Linked DNA regions of Homo sapiens: region 2 is linked to region 1. Evidence: promoter capture Hi-C in human tissues and cell types (Jung and others, 2019). All regions are on one chromosome and are shown on one strand. Each heading gives the region's core, a stretch centred on a gene start or on the middle of the fragment in contact. The rest is flanking DNA. Distances are from core to core; before and after follow the strand shown.

What was found. Contacts are between HindIII fragments. The study calls those that stand out against the background at their distance.
Region 2: a contact is called between a fragment that was not itself captured here and the fragment with the promoter of ST8SIA5 in region 1, in 1 of the 25 tissues and cell types used here (hippocampus).

What each region holds. Positions count from the first base shown.
Region 1 is chr18:46,754,148-46,758,929 of GRCh38, forward strand. ST8SIA5 (ST8 alpha-N-acetyl-neuraminide alpha-2,8-sialyltransferase 5) reads right to left here and starts at 2,906. Exons shown (of 7, transcript NM_013305.6): 1 at 2,231-2,906. The coding sequence starts at 2,361. ST8SIA5-DT (ST8SIA5 divergent transcript) reads left to right here and starts at 3,296. Exons shown (of 3, transcript XR_001753434.3): 1 at 3,296-4,312; 2 at 4,650-4,782. RefSeq lists a silencer at 2,489-2,878. The HindIII fragment of the contact is 8,707 bases long and covers 1-4,782 here.
Region 2 is chr18:46,909,530-46,914,106 of GRCh38, forward strand. All of the region lies in intron 1 of PIAS2 (protein inhibitor of activated STAT 2), which reads right to left. Among named protein-coding and RNA genes, the nearest start is that of PIAS2, 5.7 kb to the right of the region's middle. RefSeq lists enhancers at 1,375-1,876, 1,877-2,376. The HindIII fragment of the contact is 6,307 bases long and covers 1-4,577 here.

The DNA of each region.
Region 1 (4,782 bases), core at 1,656-4,155:
ATCCAGTTCAAGATCAGGACTAACCAATGATTAAGCCAAGTGCTGCAGTGTAGGTAGGGTCAGGTGTGGGAGAGACGGGAGGAAATTGTGACACACTTGCATCTCTGCACCTTTGCTCCTGCCCACTTTTTGGATGTGCATGCCCCCTGCCCCCACCCTCAAATCTTACCCTTCCTTCAAGGCCCACTCAAGTTCAACTTCCTCTGGGCACAGTCTTGCCTAACTTCTCCAGCCTATCAGTGCTTCTCTTCTCAGACAGTTTAACATTCACTTTCTGTTTCATTTGTGGCTATTTTGTTGCCCCAAATAGACTTCGAGTCCTCTGAGTACCAAGACCACATCATCTCCTTCTTTACAGACCCTTATCTACAGGCACGCTTCCAGGATCAGCCCTATACAAGTTTTGCCTGGTTGATTGGGTTGAGTCTCTAGAGTGAGGCCTGCAAGATAGCATCTATGCGATTCAGGGGGTCAGGGTCTCTGTGAGGGAGGAAGGGAAGCACCTTGTGTGCCTGCTGAACTCCTGGCAGCTAGCCCACCCACCCAAGACCAGGGAGGACTTGCCAGAGCAAGCAGGTAGTTTGGTTGGCGTTTGCCATGGGCGGTTGTATTTTCCCCCTGTTGACAAGGCAGAAGGAATCCCAGCAGCCCCAGCAACTTTGGGGAGGTGCCGGGAGGGGGCAGGAACCCAGAGCTGCCCTGCTGAAGAGCAAGTGCCAAGACAGCAGCAGGCAATCGGCCTGCAGGGCCGCAGCAAGCTGTGGGGGACCCAGCTGTCCTTGCATAGGATCATCTCAGGGGCAGCAGTAGCCAAAACAAGAGGCAGGCCCAATCAGATCCAAGAAGCCAGGAGACTCCGAAGATGGCCTTTAAAGCCACCAGTGTCAGACAGCACTCAGGAGCTGCCACCAACCAGGGAACGCTCCCTGGGAAGGTCCGGAGCAGCAACTGGCTGTAAACAAATGTTCAGAACAAGGTGCCTCATTACTCCCCAGCTCCGGGGGAGTTACAAGGAGGGGAAACAGCCTAAGTGCTCGGCTTTTCCACTGGACAGCGACACCTAGCAGCGATCCTCACCCTCCCACCTTCGTGGGCAGCCCAGATTGGGAGCACCCATACCTGATGTATCCACCTCACCCAAAGGATGAGAAGAGGGCTGTTTCGTTATGGGGAAGTTTAGAGAAGAAGGTGGGATGCTTACTTAGCTAGAGAGACATTTATTTTCCTATCAACCTAGGGGAGGGGCGGTGAGAGTAGGGAGACACTAGCAGCAAACTAAAAAACAGCCCAGCAGCTAGGAGAGAGGGCTCTTGCCAAGAGAGGCTCTGATATGGGTGTATCCTAGAGCAAGAACCTCCCCTAATCTCTCAAACCAGGCGGAGGAACCCCAAGTGTTTCCTTAAGCCAGCAGAGCCGGCAGAAGGAAGTGGCTGGCATTTCAGTGTATCTTCTGCAAATAGAGAGGCTGAGGCTGTGCCCGAATTGAATTTCTGAGTGACACCTCCTACTGCTCTTTCTCTTGGAGTTTAACCGTGGATTGGGGTGGAGTAGGGGGAGAGCCCAACGAGGGGTTAACTTATGCTGCAGCTCTGACCTTTTGCGCTAAGGATGAGAAAAAAAAAGCCATCTGTTTCAGAAGGAATCAGGTTGTTGAGTTTCACAGATCCAGTGGCTGTGGGATTGTAAGACTTCACTATCACTATCCCTGTCGCATAGCCACAGCCCACACTACCACCCCCACCGAACCCGAAGCTCCTGGAGGGGAAAATGCTTTTTCTCCCAAGGGTCCTTACGAAAGTTCAGGACTCGCGAGGTTATAAACAAACAAACAAACAAACAAACAATCGATACGATTTTGAGCCCTCCGACCCCGGAGTCCAAACAAATGGCCATAGAACTGTGGGTCTGGAGGACACCGCTCCGATCCATGCGGTCTCTCCGGGTATTAAATGGATTTATCGTCAGCCTGGTTGCTTGGAATTCTATTCTGTCCTTCATTTTTCACAGCGGAACAAAGTTGTCTGGACCCTCCAGCCAGCGCTGGGCAGAAGCAAGCAAGGATGCTCTTGGAAACGCGGTGGCCCAAGCCTAAGCGGCCATGCTCGGGGCTAGGAGCGGACCCCACGGCCACTCACCCCGGGGCGCTGCGACCGAAGCTGCCGCGGCCACTGCCACCCGGGGGCTCGCCGGCCGGCTCCGCGCATCCCGCCCTCTCAATGGACTTTCTTACCTCTTAATGTAGTTCCTGCCATACAGGATCTGTTGCAGCAAGGTCACCAAGGCAAAGGCGCAGATGAAGATGAAGAGCAAAGTTCGGCTCCCCAACAAATCCCGGTTGGCCGAGGGGTCCGCGTAGCGCATCCTGGCTACCGGGCGCCGCGGGCGCGGGGTACGGGGCGGCCAGGCAATGACTCGCGGGGTTCCGGGGCCCCGGGGGGCGCGCGGCCGACTTGGCGCCTCACGGTGCGGTCAGGCAGGCGGGGGACTTCGAGGGGCAAAGTTTCTGGTTGGCGCGGCCGGAGCTGGGGGCATCCAAGCGTCGCAGGCGCTGGGGCGGCAAGCAGGACAGGGCCGGTGGCAGGGAGCTCTGCCGCGGCCAGGGGCCTTCCCCACCCCCGGGTACCTTTACCTCCAGGCGCCGGTGCCGGGTAGCCGCCGATTTCCCCGCGGAGGGGAGACGCCAGGTGCCACGAGCCGGAGGCGGCCCCTCCCGCCGAGGTGGCGGCCAATGGGGAGCAAGACCCGGGCTCCGTCCCCTGTGCGCCCCAGCGCGCCGCGCATCGACCCCTCCAGTCCGGCGCCGGATCGCGGTTGCCCAGCGCGCTGTGCCCTGCCGGGGGCGGGCCACGTTTGATCTCCGGGCCCGCAGCAAGGGATCGCGAAGGTTGGCCTCCGGTTCTGCCGATAGGGACGGGGGGAGGGGGCGTACAAAACACCCGCGCAGTCTGGCTAATGATAGGCGGGCCGTGGGGAGGGGGAGGGGCGGAGCGCAAAACGCCGGGTTTGAATCTTGGAATTAAAAAGAGGGCAGGGGCTGGGCGCGGTGGCTCACTCCTGTAATCCCAGCACTTTGGGAGGCCGAGGCGGGCGGATCACAAGGTCAGGAGTTCAAGACCAGCCTGGCCAATATGGCGAAAACCCGTATCTACTAAAAATACAAAAAACAAAATTAGCCAGGCGTGGTGGCACGCGCCTGTAGTCCCAGCTACTTGGGAGACTGAGGCAGAAGAATCGCTTGAACCTGGGAGGCGGAGGTTGCAGTGAGCCGGGATCGCGCCACTGCACTCCAGCCTGGGCGACAGAGCGAGACTCCGTCTCAAAAAGAAAAAAAAAGAAAAAAAAGAGGGCAGGAAGAGGAAACAACAGTTGCGGAGCTGGACTTGATGGAAGGGAGCATTTGCGTGCGGCGCGCAGGGCACTGAGTCACCATCGTGGCCGCGTCCTCGCGCTCTCCTAGCGATTTCTCCGGAGAAAGCGGAGCAAGGTCAGCCGGGCAGCCCTTCAAGGACGGCGCGCCGCTCCTGCATGCTGATGGCCTGCGGGGCTGCCTGCCCGTGCCCCGGCGCCCAACTCCTACAAGGAAGAAATTCAGGGGCTCCCCGCCCCCGCCACAGTCCTCTTCCCCCTCCCCAGCTGCAACTCGGCAGCCGTTCGTCAAAGACCCTGTTGTCACCGAGACACTGGGACCTTGTCTCATCCTTGGAACCACTCGTAAATCTTAGGTCAGGCAGCCGGCAGCCTTCGGGGACCACAGTCCCCCCAAAGCTTTAGGAAGCCAGTTACTACATCCGGAAAGATTCGTGCTTCAGAACGCAAGCCAGGGAGAATAATCACAGAAACGCAATGCGAATGTCGTGCCTCTCAGAAATTCTTAGCCTGAAATACCGTCCCCACCCCCCAACCCGGCCAGGCGACAGTCCTGTCATCCTAACACCGCAGAGGCTCCAAGCGCTGGGAGTCGTGTGCCCGCGGCGCTCGCCACTGAGGCCGGTTGGAAGATTCTAGGGTGCCCCTTCCCAGGTTCCAGCAGGCACTCCGGGATGTTCTAGAGTCAGGCCAGGGATTCAACAGCGAACCTGACCGAAACTCAAACCTCAGCACAAGAACTTTGATGGGGGAAGTGCCCAGACTCCAATACTCTCGACCTTGGCATTTAGTAGTTTCTTCTTTGAACTGGAAAGATCAAATAATGCACAGTAAAATCTCATGATAAGGGTTCCACCAAGAATTCGGGATTTGTGTTAATTCATAAGGCAGAAGTGGCCCCTGTGCTATCCATGAAGAGTTTCTGTATTTCTCTGCAAGGTCACAGGTAGGCTTTTTTTTTTTTTTTTTTTTTTTTTTTTTTTTTTTTTTTGAGACGGAGTCTCGCTCTGTCGCCCAGGCCGGACTGCGGACTGCAGTGGCGCAATCTCGGCTCACTGCAAGCTCCGCTTCCCGGGTTCACGCCATTCTCCTGCCTCAGCCTCCCGAGTAGCTGGGACTACAGGCGCCCGCCACCGCGCCCGGCTAATTTTTTGTATTTTTAGTAGAGACGGGGTTTCACCTTGTTAGCCAGGATGGTCTCGATCTCCTGACCTCATGATCCACCCGCCTCGGCCTCCCAAAGTGCTGGGATTACAGGCGTGAGCCACCGCGCCCGGCCACAGGTAGGCTTTTTAACCAATTAAAGAAAAACTCCAACATTTAGAGGGCCCATTATTATAATAATTCCTGTATTTGTTTGCTGTCTGGCACATAAAAACGTGCTTCACTTGCATATATTAATGAATTTTCACCTCC
Region 2 (4,577 bases), core at 966-3,465, 150 kb after region 1:
GAGCTACCATGCCCAACCGATAAAACCTTTTGAAGTGTGACAAAAGTAGATGTTAGCAAGAAAGCTGAGTAATGAAAACTTCTGCATTGCTGGAGAGAACGAAGACTGACACCACCTTTTTTGGAAGATAATCTGACATTATCCAATATTGGTGAATATGCACACATTCTTCTTAAATACCAGCAATTCTATTCCTAGAATCTCTACAGTGAAACATACAAATATTCACACTAAGTGAGATCAACAAAGATTACAATATCAGTGCAGGTCAGGGTTTTTCTGCAAGACAAGTTTGGTGAAACTTTACAGTTTTTTTCTCTTCATTTTCAAACATTTGGATTTAAGAAATATGGATGGCCAGACACAGTAGCTCACACCTGTGATCCCAGCACTTTGGGAGGCCAAGGCGGGTGGATCACCTGAAGTCAGGAGTTCAAGACCAGCCTGGCCAACATGGTGAAAACTAATAATACAAAAAAATTAGCCGGGCATGGTGCACACCTGTAATCCCGGCTACTCGGGAGGCTGAGGCAGTAAAATTGCTTGAACCTGGGAGGAGGAGGTTGCGGTGAGTCAAGATCGCGCCACTGCACTCCAGCCTGGGCAAGAAGAGCAAAACTCCGTCTCAAAAAATAAATAAATAAATAAATAAATTTTACATATGTATATATGTTAAAAGTATAAAGACAGACCAGGAATGATGAATCCAAAATTCAGTACAATGGCTACTGTCATTGGTGAAGGTGGACATGGTTGCAGTGGATGTGATCAGGAAAGTGCATCCTGCTAAAGTTACACTAATGAATTAGTAAACTGGTTGGTAATTATATGTATGTTTGTTTACATACGCCTTACCTGTTATAATCTTTTGTACTTATCAAATAACTTAAATATTTAAAATACAAAAATTAGTATGGAATACCTAAATACAAACCCACTGTTAGAGTCACCAATTCAGGGAAGTGTCTCAAGAACTCTAGAGAAATTAGCATCAGAGAAATTCAAGGTATTTCCCCATAAATCAAGGACAGGTTGCTATTTAAAAAGAAAGAAAAATGAAAGATGATAGAAGAACTCTTATAAATTAAAGATAACTACTGAAATAAATTTTATAGAAAAGTTCAAAGACAAAATCAAAGAAACCTTTCAGAATGTAAACAAATCCCGTAGATCGTAGACTACAATTGTAGATTACAATCTTCTACAGGAGAATAACCATCAGATCTGCAATGGACCTCTGATTAGCACACCAAGTATTTTAGATTCCCACAGCAAAGTTTTCAAAATTCTGAGGAATTTATAATTCCACATGTAAACTTTCAATCAGGAACAAAGACAAGCCATTTTCAACATTCGAGAACTCAGAAAGTTTATCACCAGCATATCCTTCCAGAAACAACTATTGAAGGCTGTATTCCTGTAAAATAAAAAAGGTATCTAAAAGAGAAAAACATGGGATCCAAATAACAATAGATCTAACCCAGGAGAACAATGTGAAGTAATCCCAGGATGACAGCTGGGTAACAGGTCTACTAAGCTTCCCAAATTAGAAAAGGCAGGCCAAGACTCCGGAAAGTCTACCAAGACAAGCTGAATGGCTACAACATGAGAACCCATTATAATATTAAATTTTAAAAATAACTTCAATGAGCTTTCCTCATTCAACCAGGACTTTGTTATATTTCTTTTTTTTTTTTTTTTCCTGAGACGAAGCCTTGCTTTGTCACCCAGCCTGGAGTGCAATGACATGATCTTGGCTCACTGCAACCTCCACCTCCCGGGTTCAAGCAATTCTCCTGCCTCAGCCTCCCGAGTAGCTGGGATTACAGGTGCCCACCACCACGTCGGGCTAATTTTTGCATTTTTAGTAGAGACGGGGTTTCACCATGTTAGCCAGGCTGGTCTCTAACTCCTGACCTGAGGCGATCCGCCTGCCTGGGCCTCTCAAAGTGCTGGGCTTACAGACGTGAGCCACTGTGCCCGGCTGACTTTGTTATATTTCCTTTTTAAGGATCACAGGTTTAACAGAAGTGAAGTTTCTCTATGGCTCCACAGTACTTGGTTCTATAGTAACTAATACTCATGTCAACATACATATTTAAAAGAGTGGCTATTAGTACTCAATTTCTAGATTTTCCTGCAGAAGCACAGAAAACTTTAGAAGAGTTATAAAACATTATATAAATGCAATAAATCTTGCCAATGTAACAGTACTAACCAAAAACAAAGGCTGGGGCCGGGCTCAGCGGCTCATGCCTGTAATCCCACCACTTTGGGAGGCCAAGGGAGGGGGAGTGGATCACCGGAGGTCAGGAGTTCAAGACCAGCCTGACCAACATGGTGAAACCCTGTCTCTATTACAAATACAAAAATTAGCCAGGCATGGTTGCAGGTGCCTGTAATCCCAGCTAATCGCGAGGCTGAGGCAGGAGAATCGCTTGAACCCAGGAGGCGGAGGTTGCAGTGAGCCAAGATGGCGCCATTGCTCTCCAGCCTGGGCAACAAGAGCAAAATCCTGTCTCAAAAAAAAAAGGAAAAAAGAAAACAAAGGCTAGGAAGGGAGGAGGGAAAAACAAAGGCAAGGTTTGGCTTTTAAATCCCAAAAGGAAAGGGATCGGTGTTATATCTTTTTCTGAAAGACCAGGAAGTGAGGAAATATAGTTGTCTCTCAGTATCCGTAGGGGGCTGGTACCAGGGTCCCCTGCAGATACCAAAATCCAAGAATGCTCAAGTCTCTTACATGAAATGGCATAGTATTTGCATATAAGCTATACACATCCTCCTACGTACTTTACATCATTTCTAGTTTACAATACCTAATATATGGCAAATGCTATGAAATGGTTGTTATACTATACTGTTTAGGAAATACTGACAAGGAAAAAAGTCTGTACATGTTCAGTACAGATGTAACCAACCTTTTTTCCTGAATATTTTTGATCCAAGGTTGGTTGAAACCAAAGATAAGTCATTCACAGACATGAAGGGCCAAATATACTGTCTAAAAGTGATAGGTCAATAAACAGAAATTTATAATAAAAAGTTAAAAATAACAGCAAAATTAGGAACCAAAATGTAACTGATAGAAATCAAAGTCTAGGACAGGTGGAAAATGACCTAAATTTCTTATCTAGCAAAAAGTTAAGAAATATTTTTTTTGAGTTGAAAAAATATAGAGAGAAAGGCATGGTATATTTTTAGACTTTTGGAACAACAATAAAACCCTAAAAACAAACAAACAAAAATGGTTAAAAGCATAATGGGAGTGGGATTTAATGGAAAAGGGAAGACTTTCACTATTTTGAATTTTTTCAGTACTGTCTGCACAAATATTGCTTTCATTTAAAAAATATGAGAAATGGAAATGAGAGAATAAAAAATGTGACATCAGGTGATCCACCCGCCCCAGGCTCCCAAAATGCTGAGATTACAGCCTTGAGCCACTGCGCCCAGCCTATTTCACTTTAAGTTAAATATATTTTGTTTCGAACGTGCTTTCATAGACATGAGCTCAGGTGAAGCCTTGGAAATTTTAGTTGCATCCCATAATAGCTTTGAATCATATGGAAGATTCTGTTATATCTATCATAGCTATTAGTCTGTATCCCTGCCCAATAAATGGGGAGAGGAGCGTGATGAGGACCTCTAACCTCAAATCCCCCATTAACTTCCCATTCTCCTGCTGCATCCTAACAGCACTTGAAGTTATCAGGATGGTGACTCCTGGTAGGTGTAAGGAAACCAAACACTTAAGCCTTCTAGACAGAAGACCTTCTGTTACAGAATTACTTAGGCTTCTTAGCATGAAAGACCCAAATCTGATCTTCGAATTATGACACAACAAATTTACCCAGTTTGGTAAATGTTCTGGTTTACCCAGTATCTATTGATAAAGTTATCATCGCTGGCTCTCTCAGGCCAAATGCACAACCAGATTCTCACAGGCACATTCTCTCTCATTCTGAGACACACACAGAATAAATTCTCAATGCATGAAAAGAAGGGGATGAAGAATACAGAAGGGAGATCCTTAAAAAAAAAAAAAAAGTCACTACAATAGATCCCCCTCCTCCCCATTGAGTGATGAGAAGTAGGGAAAGTAGATTAACCAGGTTAAAGTGTAGCAGGGACCTTTTTGTGAATGACTGCCACCAGCAGACCACAATATTGGAAATATGCAACTGGAAGGGTAAAGAAAAAGCTGCTCTGGTTAAAGAAGAGGTAAGTGATTCCAGAAACTCAACTCCTGCTCTCCTCCATCCCTGTGCTTAGCTCTTCTACAGACTAGTTTGAGACAGGGTCTCCCTCTGTCGCTCAGGCTGGAGTGCAGTGTCAAGATCAGAGCTAGCTGTAACCCAGAAATCCTGGCTTCAAGCGATCCTCTTGCCTCTCAAAGCGCTGGAATTACAGGTGTGAGCTACCAAGCCCTGCCCTCCAGACCATTTTTGGAGGAGGAAGCAAGGCAGCAGTGACAGAAGTTCAGGCCATCAAATCTTATGATCTTGTCCCACATTAATTCACAACTAGTTAATTCAAAATCTGTTCATTCACAAACTAATCACTCCTTCAGCTCCTAA